Linked DNA regions of Homo sapiens: regions 1, 3 and 4 are each linked to region 2. The links are contacts of gene promoters, found by promoter capture Hi-C in human tissues and cell types (Jung and others, 2019). All regions are on one chromosome and are shown on one strand. The core of a region is centred on a gene start or on the middle of the fragment in contact, and the rest is flanking DNA. Distances in the headings are between cores, read along the strand shown. Region 1 overlaps NAV2 (neuron navigator 2). Region 2 holds the start of E2F8 (E2F transcription factor 8). Region 3 overlaps NAV2 (neuron navigator 2). Region 4 overlaps NAV2 (neuron navigator 2).

Region 1 (2,700 bases), core at 87-2,586, 560 kb before region 2:
CAAGACTTGGGGTTGGGAACTGTAATTGCCACTGCACTGAGGTATGTGAGAGGGATAGCTTACAAAGAGTACTGATTAAAATAATCCTAAATAACTAGACATACGTTTGGTGACGTTGTAATTGAAAATGAATAATTTTGTCCATATTCCCTTCTTCAATGGAGACTTATAAAACGAGTATGAACATTATCTATTTTTAACCAGATGACCCTACAAATCTGCAGAGACCTGAAGGACACACACACATACACACACACCTGCTCTCTTTAGTGCATGAGGTCTGGCTCTTCTCACTGACCTAATGAGTAGACCTGGATTCAGAAAGTAAGTAGTAAAAGTCATTAAGCAAATTGGCCACAGATCACCTTATACCATATCACTTTTGTCTCACCTTTAATCCTAGCCACACCCCTTTCAAGCTCTACCCTACCCTTGCCAATTGTTCCTAGACAAGGGCCATGTTTGTTTGACCACTTTCCAATTCGATAAGCCACAGATGGGGCGAGGCAGAGGAAACACACGTCAAACAAGTCAGATTGCTATTACTTTTAACTTGCCTTTTTCAAGCTCTCAGGTAGAAGAACTGGTTCTGCTGCATGCAGAATTTTTCCATTGCAAAAGCAGGGAGAAGAATGAGGGGCTTCCCTGGACTATACATTATCCTCTACCATTGGGGGAATCCCCCAAGTGCTCATTTAACAGTTTCCTCTCACAAGCATCTTCCCTGCCCCAGGGCATTCTGCTCTATCTCAATTAATTATATGCAGCATCTCAATGAAGCCTCACAATATCCTTTGAGGCAGGGATGACTAATTCCATTTTGCAGATGAAGACACTGACACTCTACAGAGGTAAGTAACTTGCCTAAGCCACAGACAGGATTTGAACACATATCTGAAGCTCTGCTCCCACCATTTCAGTGGGAAAGTGGAAGGATGTAGCATTTCATGCTGCCAAATGCTTTCTTGGCCCCCAAGGTAACCTCTGCAGTGTGAGGCGTTCTCTGCTAAAGGGCATTAAAGGGTGAGCAGATACTCACCAGAGGGAGTATCTCCCTGCCTGCATTTTCAAGACAAAGCTGATGCGCTCTGTGTGATCAGAGACTCCACCTGAGTTCAACAGATAAACTGGTGATTCTGTTGTTTAGTTTTGATATACAGCACCAGCACAACCTGCCCACCTGGGAATATTTTGGTGCCAAGAATGAACAGAAGGGAATACATCGCAGAAATATTAACCTTGGCAGCCTCCTCCCACAGCAAACCACTGGTTGAACTTTAATGAAATTTTGCACAAGAGCAGAAACATCTGTATTGCTGGTAAAAATAAACCCCAGCCTGGAACACACAACCGTCTCTGTGCAAGAACATGACAAACCTGGAAAGGAATGGAAAGGAGGCCTCTGTGATCAAAATGGCTGTTTATAACAGAGAGGAAGCAGCTGCTCCCCTCTGTCTGTTTTTCCTAGTTAGGGTTAATGGCTTCTTAGGAAAGAAAATACATTCTAAATTTGTGCATCTGAGGCTTTCCTAGAAGGCTGATTTGTGTGGGAGAGCAGAGGTCCTGCAAATTGCCTGTCCCCATCGACTCTCTCATCCCCACAAAACCATTCTCCAGGATGAAAAAACATTGGTGTAATTTTTTTTTTTTTTTTTTTGAGAGACAGGGTCTCACTCTGTCACCCAGGCTGGAGTATGGTGGCATGAGCATAGCTCACTGCAGCCTCAAACTCCTGGCCTTAAGTGATTCTCCTGCCTTGGTGATGTACTATTCTTAACCAATACTGGCACTATAAGGCCTAATTGCTTTAAGTATCTAGAAATAATAACTCATCCAAAACCAAAATTAAGAGCATGGACATTAACTTATTTAAAAGATGCAAGAACAAGAGGCCAGTTCACAGATCACAGGTGGCTGGGGAGGCCTCAGCAATCACATAAAGTTGCTATACAGTGTGGCGTATTCCTCTAGGTAGTCTTTCTTTAGAAAAAAGAGCACAGGCGCTCCTGGAACCCAGAATCAGAGAATTCTGGGAATGGAAGAGGCCAGCCAAGCCCTCTAGCCCAATCCCACCCCTCCTTGATGCATGAATCCCTTGCACAAGCTCCATGCCAAGTTTCCCTAAACTGCCAGGGGTAAAGACCTTCTGACCTCCTATAAGAGCCATTTGACACTAATCTCAGAAAACTCTTCCTCCCACTGAATTGAATTTTGGTCCCAGTTTGGTGAAGACCCCCAGTGATTAATCCTTCTAGCCCTTCGGAGATAAAAGGTGGCATAGTGTCTCTTTCACGAGTCATAATATCATAAAAGAGTTTCAAATTCCTATAAATACTCTTCATAGAACAAAGCTTTGGTTCTCTCACCACCCTGGCTATTCTCCTCCGGACAAGGGTGATGATGGATAAGGTCAGCAATGATAATTATTAAAATAAAAGCAATGATTTTAGCTCTTATTAAGCACACACTATGTGGCATACACCGTACTACATGCTTTATATGCACTTATCACTGAATCCTCACAACAACCCTGGGAGTTCAAGACTATTGTCCTCTTAATTTCACATTTTGAAAAAATAGGAGCTCACAGGTGACGTAACTTGCCCAAGGTTACAGAGCTAGTAAGTGATAGTGCCGGGATTTGAACTCAGATTCAGCCAGAGACTGCCCTTCTTTGTCACTGTGCCTCCAGAAGATGGG
Region 2 (2,700 bases), core at 201-2,700:
AGCCGAGGCAGCGCCGCCGCCCCGGGCCTCGGTGTCCCGTTCTGCAAAGTGAGGACGAAGGATCGAAGTGTCTCCCCGACCCTGCTAGGGCTCTACAGGGAACCAGGCTAAAGCTGCCTGAGGCTCGGAGACCGGAAAAAGAGGGAAAGACAACAGGGAAGAGAAAGGGAGGAGTGGGTGGGAGACCCTGAGGAAAGACGGCGAGGACAGGGTTGGAGGGTTTTCCGCCTTCCTCCTCTTCCTCCTACACCTGAGTTCTCACCGCTGGGCCAAGGCCCAGAGCCCACGGAGCTTAGGCACCAGTAGCCAAGCTTCTCCCTCCTCGCGCCAGTTTCTGCGAGGCACGGGGCAGACGGTGGGCAGCACAATCATGCATGCCAGGGGTGCAAGGGGGAGAGGTCCGGCTGGAGTCCGAGGGCAGGTGAGCCGGCCTGGGGCTGGGCAGGGGTGAGATAGCCCCAAGCGGGGAATCGCAGGGCGCCTGCGGCCCAGCCCGCGAGCCCCGGACGGGCCAAATTTTATTCCCCAACTTTGAGCAAGGGGAGGGGGTGTATGCAAAAAAAAAAAAAAAGGAAAAAAAAGTTGCTGAACTTTTCCCCCAACTCTGCCGTAGAGGCGGGAGTGGAGGGCGGTGCCTGCACCGATTCGCCGGCGGCTACGGTCGGGAGGCTCGGATTGGCGCTCGGGGGCCGGGGCCGGGGCGAGCGGGCGTGGGGGAGGGGAGCGGCCCTCCCCGCCCGCGGTATCGGCTCGCGCCGGGAGCGGGTTAATTTCAAATCGGGGGCTTGGCTGCTCCTGGACGGTCACGCTCCCTCTGCCCGCCAGCCGGCCCGCCAGTCCCGGTCCCGGCGTCTCTCTCCGGCACCCACCTCGGCGCTGCGGAAAGACTGACTGCCAGGTACGCGGGCTCCCGGGCCTGAGAGGGGCAGCGGTGCTGACGAGTCCCGGCTCAGCCCCCGCCGGCTCCCGCCGTGAGGTGGACTGACAGGTCAGCGGGACGCAGAGGGGCGCGGCGCCCGGGCGACACGGCACCGGGAGAGGGCTCGGGAGGGTGGCGGCGGCGGCGGCGGCGGCCGTTTCCCGCCTCCCGCTTCGCCGGGGGCCGTGAGGGAGGAGCTGAGCTCCCGCGCAGAGGGGCGGGGGCGAACGAGGGGGAGGGGCGGGGTTGCCGTGGTTCCGGGCGCGGGTTTGCCCGCGCTCAGGCCCCGCGCAGCTAAGGGGAGGCGCCGGCCACGGTCCGACTTTCCGCGCCAAATTTTTAAATCGAAGGCGGAAGGTCCGGCCCCGCCCCTGGCGCCGTCGGCCAATCGCAGGCCCGCTTCCGGCCCTCTGATTGGTCGGGAATTGTTGTCCTGGAAACCACGATGATGCTGTCCGGGAACTGTCGGGACTGCGGCGGGCGGACAGGGCCTGGGGGAGGGGCCTTTGGCCGAAAGTTGGGGGAAGTGCACTGAGCGAGTGGCGGCCGGGGGACAGTACCTGCTTGCCTTATTGGGCAAATACAGCCTTCCAAGGTGGAGTCTAACGCCGTGGTGTGAACTGGCCACCCGAACAGGGAGTAAATAGTGCTTTGTATCTTTAAGGAAGCCCTTTTTTAAATTTAAAAAAAAAGTCTTAATTATAAGACTCTTTAAATGCCCAACTGCATACTTGGAGCTTTGGGACTGAATTTGGAACTTTCCTGTCAAGCGACCTCCCACGACTTTACTGCTGAGCCTGTGCACGTGTGTGTAAGGGGAGAAATCCAGGCATCTAGATGCAGACTTGTACCCAGTTACTTGGGGTCGCGTGCGCTCAGCTGGGACCTGGGCTCGTGCGCTTAGTCCGGAGCCCTGATCTGCGAACAGGTGGGTGCTTCCTAAAGTATTCGCTGGGGTCCGGAGAATGGCTCGCCTTTTCTACAGATGGGAGAGGGCTGTCACTAGAAATTCCGTGGGTTGCTTGAAGTCTTAGGACCGCCGATCCGTTTGCTGAAGGAATTTACTGGCATTTGTTGGCGTTCTCCGCTCAGTGGGGCGATCTCTGGTCGAGAATAAAATGTAAATCTAGTTTGTCATTTTTCGTTAGGCTTTGTTTCCGTAGCCTCTTGTCCGTGAAGGAATTTTCAACAGATCTTTTGGTTCTTGTTTTTCTCTAACTTTTTCTATTTCCTTTTTTCTTTAAGGATATTAAAACTTTTAGTACAATTGATTGGACTACTTGAACCATCGGGATTTGGGGAGGAACTCCAGATTTTTCATTTTTAAACTCTAAATGTATGAGGAATTTACAGAATGGAGAACGAAAAGGTACTTTATAACTTCAGTATTCATCATTGCAATTTTAAATTCAGTATCATCCTGATTTAACTCCATAATTTTTCCCTATCCAATGTGTTTTCTTAATGCCACAACCTTGGTTAGCCTCTGTAAAGACCTGGAAAAAATGAACCTTATCTTATAGTTTCAAAAATATATAGTTTAAAATATATACTAATTTAATTAATATAGTTTAAAAAATGAAAATTATCTTAAAAAGAAATTCAGTCTCCAATCATGTCAAATGCCCTTTCTGAATTCCAGTTGTTCAAGAATCCTCAGAAATGTTGTAATGAAACTAACAAATTTTATTATTCTTAAAAATACCTTTTCTCTCTTTATGTCTGAGACAGCTACCAAATCATTAAAAACTAGAAAGAGTGTAAAGGGGCAAACCTACCCC
Region 3 (2,700 bases), core at 183-2,682, 540 kb before region 2:
CAATTATCATTAGTACTCCCTTTCACTCTCAGAAGTATCTTGGTTGGGATAATAAACTATACAGTCACCTGGTATAATACCTAAGGAGTGTCAATAATAATAATAATAATTACTATTATTATTATACAATATTCATGTCACTTTTGCAATAAAGCCCCTCTTTTTTTTTTTTTTTTTTTTTTTTTTTTAAGATGGAGCTTTGATCTTGTTGCCCAGGCTGGAGTGCAATGGTGCCATCTTGGCTCACCGCAACCTCCACCTCCCGGGTTCAAGCGATTCTCCTGCCTCAGCCTCCTGAGTAGCTGGGATTACAGGCATGTGCCACCATGCCCAGCTAATTTTGTATTTTTAGTAGAGACGAGGTTTCTCCATGTTGGTCAGGCTGGTCTTGAACTCTCAACCTCAGGTGATCTGCCCACCTCAGCCTCCCAAAGTGCTGGGATTACAGGCATAAGCCACTGCGACTGGCCAATAAAGCCCCTCTTAACCATCCTACATTAAAGGTAACCTCCACCATTCCTCCCTATCCTTCTCACCCTGCTATATTTTTCTTAATATAATAGCATTCATCACCATAAAAAGTAACATGTTTTGCTTATTATCTCTTTCTTCCAGTAAAATATAGGTATGAAACTTTTTTGTTGACTCATATATTCCCTAGTTCCTAGAAGATGTTTCATAAATGTGTTGGATGAATTAAGGTAACATCATGATCATTATCATTATAACAATGGCTAACATTTATTGAGCATTTACTATGTGCTTGGATGCTGCTCTGAATACCTGTATCTTACTAAACAACCCTAACAACCTTGAATTTGGAATGATTATCATCATCATCATTTTACAGATGAAGAAACTGGGGCTCAGAGAAATAAAGCAATATTCTCCCCAGGTTGCACAGATCATTGGCAGAGCTAGGAGGGAAGGGGGGTTTGACTATCCCCAGTATCTATGCATGAAGCCACTGTTCAAAGTCTGATAGCAAAGATACCACATCCACCAGCAGCTCAAGGACTTAGAGAATCAGACGAGGGTTCATACTACTGCCTGTCAGGGCTTAAAAGCCCTCCTTTTAAGAAGTCAGGGAGGGCTTCTTAAAAAAAGGGGACTCAATCTGAGCTTCAAAAGGATGGGGTGATAACATGGAGAGATGGAAGAAGCGTGAAATTGGAATATCACCAGGCCAACCATGCTGATTGGAACTAACAGGTTCTATGTGGAAGCTCTGCTGAAGAAGACCTAAAACACTGCTATCATCTAAAAGGCCTTGAATCCCACAAAGGAGTTGGACTTCATCCACCAATGGACTGGATCCCACAAAGGTTGGAACGAGAAATCAGTAGTCTTGAATCCTGAAACTTCACATCGGGAACAATGCTAGAAAAATAGGCAAAGCTATAGCTGTGAAACAAAAGACTCACTCCTGGACCCTCTACAGACATACACACCTTCCTAAGCCCAGTAAACATACTGGAGCTGATAAATCCCATTTAAAGTGCCTTGCTTTCCTATAGATTCATTTGTGCCACAGGACCTATCATGTTCCCAGCAAGCACACAGCTCATCTCTCACTATGACAAAGATAATGTATAATGCAGGTGCTTACCCTTGTCCCACTCCACAGTGTTATAACCAGACATATTATTTCTGGTCACAAGGGCAATCCTCGACTACATCTCAGCCCAGCCAAATATCTCCATCACACCTTCTTGTTACCCTGTTTAAACAATATCTGTCAACTCATTCTAACCCTTCACTCTAACACCCATTCTTAGTGGGAGGTCAGGCTCTTCCACTGCCTTTCCACCTCCCTGGCTATTGCTCTTATATTAGAAACAGCATTTCTGTAACAATCTCTGAATCAAAAAGAACAACCCTTGGGAACAGCACCTGGGTCACCCAGCCCAGATCTCTGGGCTGGCAGCTGGAAAGACAATGGCAGCCTGGTCCATGTGTCCTGGAGAGTCTTAGAGACCCTGAAGAAAAGCTTAGCCACATGCCTTCTGGGTGGCTGGCATTACATTACAGGAGCCAGAAACAAAACAATTTTTTTCCCTGGCTTCACACAAAAACAAAAACAATTGCATAAGTAATGTAAGCACTGCCAGGTCACCAAAGGGACCAATTATAAATCTCTACTTCTCTATTAACACAAAAATGAAGGAAAATGTGTTACCTCAAAATGTCATTAAGAGGAAGTCACTTACTAATTTCAGAGGCTTTCTCTCCTTCCCTCCCAATATTCCTTTCTTTATTTTCCTAGTAATTAACCAAAGTCAAAACCTTCCTCACATGCTTTGGTTTCAATTCAGGAAAGTACATCAAGGCTATGAGGGCTCATTACCCACAGCGGAAATGCATATGGAACTATTCCTGTATATTCCAACCTGCTTTCTCAAGGAAAGAATGGAACTTCTTGCCCTTGAGATTTTGGGGAATTAGTAGAAAATGGACATGACTTCAGTACCTGGGAGATGGTCAAATCTATGCCAGTTACAATTAGTGGAAAGCAGGAGAAAGTCCTAGAAGTCCCTGAGAGTGGAAATGACCGTTGTTTTCTAGCTGAAGGTGGTAATACTTTCATGTGAGTGTTAATGAGCTTTAGTCAGGAAAAAAAACGGAAGTTGTTAAGATGGGAATCAGTCTATACGTGTAAAGAGCTGAAGCAAGCTGATGGATGTGTTAATTAGTTTGATA
Region 4 (2,700 bases), core at 63-2,562, 650 kb before region 2:
AAATGCTTCCAGGAGACCTGGACATATTTCCTAAAGATGTCTAGACTACTTTGCCTAGAAGGAATGAAGGAAGGCTCTGCCTCTTTTTGAATAATCTTTGAAACTACCTTAGTTTCTCCAATGTCTCAAGAGATAGAGGCTGAAACAAGCAAAGGTTTGTTTTACTACATTCTGGGCAGCACCCCCATGGGACTATTCACTATTTTTCTCCATCCTAAAAACTCAGTACTGTGTATAGTAAAAAAAAAAAAAAAATCCATATCCTTTTATGGCAAAAGTTACATCATCACAACTCCTAGAGCAATGCTGTCCACTCCTTATATGTAGCCAAGATCTTCAATGAGCCAATCCACATTCCTGACTTTTTCAAAGGGTGAAAAACCTCTTGTTCCTAACTCCCCTCACATTATTTCTGACGGATAAAAAAGCTTATCACAGTTCACAAAATGCATGCTCCAAGAAGCTTGCATTTCTGAAAAACTACTTAATATATGGAACATATTCCATGAAAATTTATTTTCAAATTCCAAATGCTATATTGCTTCTATGCATAGCCGGGTGTCTATGGGGCCCCACCCAAACAAAGATAGCAAATTATTTTTGCTAGTGACTATAACAATATTTTCCCCCACTTTATTAATACCTCTGGCTACTAAAGTTCCTGCCTACCAAATATGTCCTTGTAACTCATTCTCAACACAGATGCAACCCCTCCCCATGACCCAACCCAATTCACCCGAAGGAACTAGGTAGATGTGCTCTGAAGGAAAATACCAAAAAGGCTCCTCAAGAAGGTGACTCACCTTTCTCGTGGCTGCTTGGCGGTGGGGGTGGGGAGGTGACTGGTTTGGATTTATCATAGTTGTTAAAGCTCTGGCTGCGTCGGTTGTTAGCAGTAGTTGACCCTCCGCGTGTTTTGGCCTCGCTGCCTGCAGCGGATACCCTCGCGGTAGGACCTGGAAGTCTAAAATGCAAAAGCAACAGGATAATGCATTCAGTCTCAGAAGAATAACAGTGTGTAGGAAGAAGGAACTGCAACCATGCAGGAGGCAAAAGAAACTATCCAAGACATTGTGTGGAGGTTTGCCAGTCACAGAATTTGGTGGAACCATTACAAACATGTAGGCAAGTAATGACCCCAGCAAAGTCCAACAGCAAAATGTGAAGTTTCCCTTTGAGCAGAGAGAAAAATTTTGATGAAGAAATATGTTTGTGGATTAAAAATACAAAGTTCAACATGGCAAAACCCCATCTCTGCTAAAAATGCAAAAATTAGCCAGGCATGGTGGTGGGCACCTATAATCCCAGCTAATTGGGAAGCTGAGACAGGAGAATCAGTTGAACCTGGGAGGCAGAGGTTGCAGTGAGCTAAGATCACGCCATTGCACTCCAGCCTGGGTGACAGAGTGGGACCCTGACTCAAAACAAAACAAAACAAAAACAAAGTTCATTTTTTTTTTCCCTCTGGGATAAGTATTTTTACTTTTGAATAGGGTCAAGCCAGTCATTTCTAATTTTATCAAGCATGGAACATAAAGCCCTCAGAGGATTCTAAACTGATAACCTTGTGTGTGCATCTCTTCTGATAGGTATAAAAACTGTTTGCCATAATCTGGGGTTGTAAGTATCAAGAAAAGGACAATTTATAGTGGTGAGAAGGTGAATTACTACCACTCAGAATCCAACATATTTGCAATGAAAACTTCAGGTTGGTTGGAAACACTTGCCCACACATACATTTCCCTTCAACACCTGATGACCTGTCTCCAAAGGCATTATTTTGAGGCTGAAGTACAACTTATCTGCACAGTAGATGGATAACATCATATATTCTTCCTGTAAAACTGGCAGGAATTTGTTGGCCTAAAGACAAACACACACTCTCCCTTTAAATAAAACACCTCATTTTGGGTGGCTTGGGAAATAAAGTCACCATCCATAATGTGTCTAAAGATATTATGGCCCATTCACCAAAGAGTTAATGGTAAGACTCCTCAAATCAGGATTTTGGTCCAGGGAATTACTAAGCAGGCTGTTTCCAATAATTAAAGTTGAAAGATGAATAAATGATGAAATGTTTAGTTATATCTTTCAGCTTGAAATCCACTTAGCTGTGTTTAAAAGCCACTGGAACCTCAGCTGACTAGCATTAGATCTAGTGACAAGTCTGAATTTTCAAGTCATAAAACTTTCAGCCTTCTCTTTCCATGCAAATCTGTAAGCACCAAAGAAGTCTACAGTCTGGAAGCATTTTAGATATAAGCAGGCAATCACTTTAAACTTTTCTTGTTGGCTGGGCAAGAAAGATGGTTGTAGAGTAAACAGAGAACATGAGCTGGTGTGAGGGGACTGTAAAAATTATATAGTTAAAAAGAAGCTGGCCCAATTCCCTGACTGGGAGCTGGGAGAGAAGGAAGGGGGTTAGCTCTTCCCCCAACAAGTTGCAGTGAGAATTACTTCCCACTGTGCTGCGAGGATTTGTACCTTGGTTAATTTACCTCATCTCCTTTGGAGAGGACATTCACTCCACAAAGACAGGCACAGAACGGAGTACAAAATACTAGCAGTGCCAGTGCCTGTGTTTGGGGACCAGATGTGGCTAGCACATCTGGCCAAGGAGGTCCAGCAGTGGGATCTTAGTACCTCTTGGTTCTGCTTCCAATGCAAACAATGTTCTGCAAGTCCTTCAAGTCAGTGTTA

The links. The method cuts DNA at HindIII sites, captures the fragments that hold promoters and counts their contacts. A contact is called where the count stands out against the background at its distance.
Region 1: a contact is called between a fragment that was not itself captured here and the fragment with the promoter of E2F8 in region 2, in 3 of the 25 tissues and cell types used here (IMR-90 fibroblasts, heart right ventricle and thymus).
Region 3: a contact is called between a fragment that was not itself captured here and the fragment with the promoter of E2F8 in region 2, in 1 of the 25 tissues and cell types used here (mesenchymal stem cells).
Region 4: a fragment that was not itself captured here is called in contact with the fragment with the promoter of E2F8 in region 2 in 1 of the 25 tissues and cell types used here (aorta).

Annotation. Positions count from the first base shown.
Region 1 is chr11:19,801,669-19,804,368 of GRCh38, reverse strand. All of the region lies in intron 1 of NAV2 (neuron navigator 2), which reads right to left. Among named protein-coding and RNA genes, the nearest start is that of MIR4694, 43 kb to the right of the region's middle. The HindIII fragment of the contact is 6,637 bases long and covers 1-2,700 here.
Region 2 is chr11:19,239,695-19,242,394 of GRCh38, reverse strand. E2F8 (E2F transcription factor 8) reads left to right here and starts at 1,450. Exons shown (of 13, transcript NM_024680.4): 1 at 1,450-1,847; 2 at 2,165-2,288. The coding sequence starts at 2,274. All of the region lies in intron 1 of CSRP3-AS1 (CSRP3 and E2F8 antisense RNA 1), which reads right to left. RefSeq lists enhancers at 1-245, 451-560 and a silencer at 681-1,380. The HindIII fragment of the contact is 7,308 bases long and covers 1-2,700 here.
Region 3 is chr11:19,781,877-19,784,576 of GRCh38, reverse strand. All of the region lies in intron 1 of NAV2 (neuron navigator 2), which reads right to left. Among named protein-coding and RNA genes, the nearest start is that of MIR4694, 23 kb to the right of the region's middle. The HindIII fragment of the contact is 7,941 bases long and covers 1-2,700 here.
Region 4 is chr11:19,890,698-19,893,397 of GRCh38, reverse strand. NAV2 (neuron navigator 2) reads right to left here. Exons shown (of 38, transcript NM_145117.5): 6 at 804-964. Among named protein-coding and RNA genes, the nearest start is that of NAV2-AS3, 89 kb to the left of the region's middle. RefSeq lists an enhancer at 170-1,369. The HindIII fragment of the contact is 3,100 bases long and covers 1-2,700 here.